2 separate regions of the Homo sapiens genome follow, and region 1 is linked to region 2. The links are contacts of gene promoters, found by promoter capture Hi-C in blood cells and fetal thymus (Javierre and others, 2016). All regions are on one chromosome and are shown on one strand. Each heading gives the region's core, a stretch centred on a gene start or on the middle of the fragment in contact. The rest is flanking DNA. Distances are from core to core; before and after follow the strand shown.

Evidence for each region. Contacts are between HindIII fragments. The CHiCAGO score rates a contact against its expected background, and 5 or more counts as called.
Region 1: a fragment that was not itself captured here is called in contact with the fragment with the promoter of ZNF667 in region 2 in 1 of 17 cell types (activated CD4 T cells); the score reaches 5.9 in activated CD4 T cells.

Annotation. Positions count from the first base shown.
Region 1 is chr19:56,768,038-56,770,813 of GRCh38, reverse strand. All of the region lies in intron 1 of ZIM2-AS1 (ZIM2 antisense RNA 1), which reads right to left. Among named protein-coding and RNA genes, the nearest start is that of ZIM2-AS1, 4.1 kb to the right of the region's middle. The HindIII fragment of the contact is 724 bases long and covers 1,113-1,836 here.
Region 2 is chr19:56,476,088-56,478,797 of GRCh38, reverse strand. It overlaps ZNF667 (zinc finger protein 667), which reads left to right and starts at 1,453. Exons shown (of 7, transcript NM_001321356.2): 1 at 1,453-1,526. It overlaps ZNF667-AS1 (ZNF667 antisense RNA 1), which reads right to left and starts at 924. Exons shown (of 2, transcript NR_036521.1): 1 at 417-924. The HindIII fragment of the contact is 7,484 bases long and covers 1-2,710 here.

The DNA.
Region 1 (2,776 bases), core at 225-2,724, 290 kb before region 2:
TGACTCATTAAAGGCAACTACTTTACAGAAATGTAGATCTCTCTCCCTCCCTCTGCCCCGAAACAGAAAAATACACTATGAACACCACTAACATTTTTAGTCTGTTTTCTTGTAACTTAAAATTAATGACTAGATTTATGAAGGTAGTCGCCTCTGGGGAGTGGCTGAAGTAAAGATCTCATTTTCATGGTCTATACCTGTCCACTTTGTTACCCTCATGACTGTATTACGCTCTGTTGCCCAGGCTGCAGTGCAGGGGCGCGATCGTGGCTCACTGCAGCCTCTGCCTTCCAGGTTCAAGCAGTTCTCCTGCCTCAGCCTCCCAAGTAGCTGGGACTACAGGCATGCACCACCCTGCCCGGCTTTTTTTTTTTTCTATTTTTAGTAGAGATGGGGTTTTGCCATGTTGGCCAGGCTGGTCTGGAACTCCTAACCTCAGGTGATCTGCCTGCCTTGGCCTCCCAAAGTGCTAGGATTACAGGTGTGAGCCACCGCACCCAACCCTGTATTACCTATTTTTAAGGTATTTATAGATAGTTGTCATATAGCTGTGACTATTCCATGTGTGCGATAGTATACCTTGTTTTTCTACCCAATCTTATACCTTACAAAACTGCTGTCATCACTCACTCGTCTGTGGTTATCACCGCCTTACCAGTGGCACAGCAAACCCAGTGCTTTCTGTGGATGGCTCCTCCTCTGTTGTTAGGAGGTAAAATTCAGTTTCAATTTTTCATAGTTATGAACATACTATAATCAACATTTCGGTGCTTAAACCTTTTTCCAAATGTAAAATTTCTTTACGATACATATTTGCCAAAGAGGAATTGCTGCATCAGAAGGTGTATAATTGCTTTTAAGATTTTTGATATATCCAAGTTCCTTTTGGAAACATTACATCAGTTTGCACTGCTGCTACTGCTAGTAATGCTTGGGGATACGTGTTCCTCACACACACCCACTACCCCCCACACCTCCCGCCCAGCTGGCATTATGTAATAACAGCACTTTTCATTGTAGGGTGTTTAGTAGCAACTTTGCTAATAGGGGAAAGGGCATCTCATTTTAATTGTCTTTGATTTTTAAGGATGTTGAACTTTCTCCTGTAAGCTTCTTAAGCCATTGTTTCCTCTCTTCACATTGTCTGTCTTTTAATCATTTGTCTATGTGACTTTAATAGCTTCCTATCAGTTTGAACCATCTCTTTGCATAATAAAGATATTAATTCTTTGTTGTCATCTTGGCTGCAAATGATTTTCCCTCTTTGGTATTTTCTTTATTTTTTGAAAATGTTTCAATTTTTATATATTTCAATCCTTCTATTTTCTTCCAACCCTACAAAATCTAACCCTCTGTAAACATTAGTGTTTTATTCTGGAGTTTTAAAAATATGCTTTAGTGATTATTGAATTTACTTGGGCATATTGTATGAAAAGAGAATTAAATTTATTCTTCCTCATTGTTAATTGCCCCAACATTATTAGTAAATTATAAATTGTTATATTTTATAATGTAGGTTCTATATTTGGACCATCTACTTGCTTTTATTGGCTTGTTGCCCTGTTTTATCCTAGATCTATATTCTTCTTAATTTTTATGGCTATATTTAATGTTTTCCATCATTGTGCCTTTAAAAAGTATATGTACATGTATGCATAAATTTATGTGAAGTTATATATAAGTTTCCGTTATTCCAGATTAAAATTTATCTTTAGTAATCAAAAACCAACCTTCTGATTATTATTGCAATGAACTTATAAGTTAGGAAGGATTAACATTGTTACATTTAATCTTAACATCCAGGAATATGATACTGTGTTTTCATTCATTCAAGCTTTTGTATCAATCAGTAAAGCTTTATAGTTTTCTTATCAAAATGTCACAAGTTTTCCTTAGTTATTTCTGCATGTTTTTGCAGTTGTGAGTTTTCTTCTATAGAGTTTTTCTTATATTTCTTCTAAAAAGCCAGCATCTCAAGAATAGGGTCACTTCGGCATTGCCAAGGAATTCTGAAATTTTAGAACCAGACTAACTACATTTGGCTGCTTTATTAAAGTCACCCAGGCCGGGCGCGGTGGCTCACGCCTGTAATCCCAGCACTTTGGGAGGCCGAGGCGGGTGGATCATGAGGTCAGCAGATCGAGACCATCCTGGCTAACAAGGTGAAACCCCGTCTCTACTAAAAATACAAAAAAAATTAGCCGGGCGCGGTGGCGGGCGCCTGTAGTCCCAGCTACTCGGGAGGCTGAGGCAGGAGAATGGCGTGAACCCGGGAAGCGGAGCTTGCAGTGAGCCGAGATTGCGCCACTGCAGTCCGCAGTCCCGCCTGGGCGACAGAGCGAGACTCCGTCTCAAAAAAAAATAAATAAATAAAATTAAAAAAAATAAAAAATAAAATAAAATAAAATAAAAAAATAAAGTCACCCAAGATCATCTCTGCTGGCCCCTGTAGGATCCTCAGTTTTCAATCCTTTCTTGAAACCAGTATTTCTCAAACTTTAATGTGCAATATGGGGGAGACAGGCAATAAGCAAAATAAGGTGGTAAATGCTATGAAGAAAAATAAAACCAGGAAAGAGGGTAGAGAGTTACCATGGAAGTGGGAGGGCTAATTTAAGACAGGTTGGTCCAAAAAAGGCTCTCTGAAGAGATGGCCTTTAAGCAAAGACCATCAGATGAGAAGTCAGCCTGGGACCCTGGAGAAGAGAGTGTCCGGGCAGAGGAAACAGCATGAGCGAAGCTCTTTGGTCAGAAAATAGCTTTGTATGTTGGTGGA
Region 2 (2,710 bases), core at 204-2,703:
ACCTTAGTCGGATAGTATTTTAGGCTTTATGGGCCACAAGATCTCTGCTGCAAGTACTGAACCCTGCCATTGTGCAAAAGCAGTCATAGAATAGACGTAAATATACACAAGTATACATATTCAAAATGTGTGGTTCCCCACAGAGACGTACACACCGCAAAAACTGGGCTCTAGAGTCAACAGTAAATAGTTCAGGCTTTGTGGGGCCACACAGTACCTGTTCCCACCTACTCAACTCTGCCCTTCCGCAGAAGTGGATGCAGAAGCTAAACAAATGTCCAGAACATACACACATATTCAAAATCAGTGCCCCCCGCCACGTACAAAACCACAAAAATCGCCTCAGAGACACACGTATAAGAAAACACAAAGGTTCGTCCTCACACATGTTCAGGGTAACACAATGTGGGTCTCACCTACACAAACGCGCGATCAAAACCCGGGACCCGCACGCCCAGATGACCGGGACGAGGCCATACTTCACATCTTCTCTCACAGACTCACAATTACGCAACGGTCACCTCAAACGACTTTATGGCGGACACTCCCGGACCTTCCGCTGTCCGCCCCTCCTCGTCCCTTCTCCCCGCCGGGGTGAGCCTCATCCACCCAGTCTCAACCCCGACGCAGTCAGTCTCACTGCCAGCCCGCCGGCTACGCAGGCGCAACACCGCATGGAACAGCCCCCAGGGCGTGCAGGGGCCGTTGGGAAATGTAGTCCGAGCGCCACGCAAAGGACTGTGGGCCTCTTCGCAAAACGTGCAGGTGAGTCCCCACTGTTGGCCAAAAGAAACATCCCTCCGCTGCTCTCCCGGGTCAGTTCATCTCCGACCCGGACAGAGCAGAACCAGCGCAGCCCAAGCCTTCTTCACCTCACGTTCTGGGTGGGACTTTCCACAGCCTCGCTGCACCCCGGTGGATTCTGGAGGTCGCAGGATGACTGCGTAGTGCGCACGCGCGGGTGGGCGGTGTCCGCCTCCGCGGGTGAGGCCGGCTCCAAACCTCGTGAATGTGGGGGCGAAGGACGCTGGCTGGCTGGAGGCAATAAGCCCTCACACGGGAACGTGTGGTTGTGGGAGCGGGGAAGGCGGCGAATTGGGGAGGTTGGGTTTGGTTAAAGAGCTCGAGGAAGGGCCTCAGTGTCCACACGTGATCTCCTGAGAGGATGAAAAGCAGGGCCAGGCGCCAGTCCCCTAGGAGACCGGTGTGCGTGCCAGCCTCGGGGGTGTGCGCAGGCGCGGGACCTCGCGCGTCCGCCTGCACCAATCGTGCGAACGCGCTTGTGCGTGTGGCGCTGAGGGGTCGGGGCCTCAGGCCGGGGCTGGTGGTACTGTCCCCGAGAGGCGGGTGAGCGCACGCCGCGTGGCCTTGTTTGGGGGCGGGGCCACGCGCCCGCATGCGTGGTGCGTGTGTGAAGGGGGGTGCAGCGCGCGGTCCCGGGGTCCCGGAGGGGAGTGCGCAGGCGCTGAGTCCCTGCTCGGCTGTCTCGGTGGTCGCCGCCGGGGTCTGAGCCCGGGAAGACCGAGGTAAGGGGGCTGGCGAGAGTGTGGGTGTGTCTGAGGGCGTGGGCGGCGCGCCCGCCACTGCGTGGACGTTCCTGCCAAGGCGCGCGTGGGTTTGCGCATCCACGATGGCGTGGGCGTCTGCGCGGGTGCTTGCGTGGGCGGTGGGCTCGCGCCTGCGTGGGTTCTCGGCCCGCCACGGCGTGGGGTTTGCGCCCTTCGCTGCTGTGGTTCTCGGGGCTTGTGCGCCCAAGTGTGAAGTTGGCGCCGCGTGTGAGGCGAGCCGTGTGTGCCTGTGTGTGAGGGAGCTATGTCGGGACCGCGGATGTGTATCGCTGCGTGACCCACGCGAAGGAAACAATGGAGCCATTGGGAAGCCGGGAGTGGGTGTGTGACGCTGACTGTGAAGATTTGTGTTTCTGGAGTGTGTGCGTGTGTCAGTGTCAGGCTGATGTGGGCGTTTATTGTAGCCTTGGGTTACTGTGTGACTTGCCTGGGCGTCTGTCTGCCACTTAGCGTCAGTGGCTTTGCGGTTATGAGTGTGTGACTGTGCCTTTCTGGTGTATATCTCACTGTAACCATGGAAATGGAGGCCCACAGGGGAAGAATTCTTAGCAGCTCTAAGATGTGATGGGCTGCCCTGGAAATCTGTGGAACTGTTTAATTGTGCATGACTTTCCTCCTTGGTAAAATAGCATATTAATAGCACCTGCCTGGGTGTTATTGGGAAGATTAAATGGGATGACGTAGCTGAAACACCCTGCACAGAGCTTGTCACATACTAATCACCGTGTTTAGGTGTTGGTTATGGTGCTGGTGGTCGTTTTTCTTTGACCCTATACAGAGGCAGAGGTAGTGGTGAATACTGGAGGACTTTGCATCTCTGAGCTTCGGACTGGGCTATCTTTGTCCACATACCAGGGCATCTGACCATCTCCAGTTGAGCAGTGGTGCGCTGCCCCCGCCAACCACCTGCGTCGTCAGTTTTCTGCATGTGTACATTTGAGTGGAGGACAGAGCCCTCCACTGACGCTAAGTATGGTTGTGTCCCCTTCCTACCAAGGTAGCTTGGAAAAATAAGAGCATGGACTGTGGCGCCCCGCTGTCTGGTGTTGACTCCTGGTTTCACCACTGGCTGGCTGTGTGACTGAGAGAGCTTACTTAAGTCCACCACTCCTCGGTTCACTTGTAAAACAGTAGTAATAACA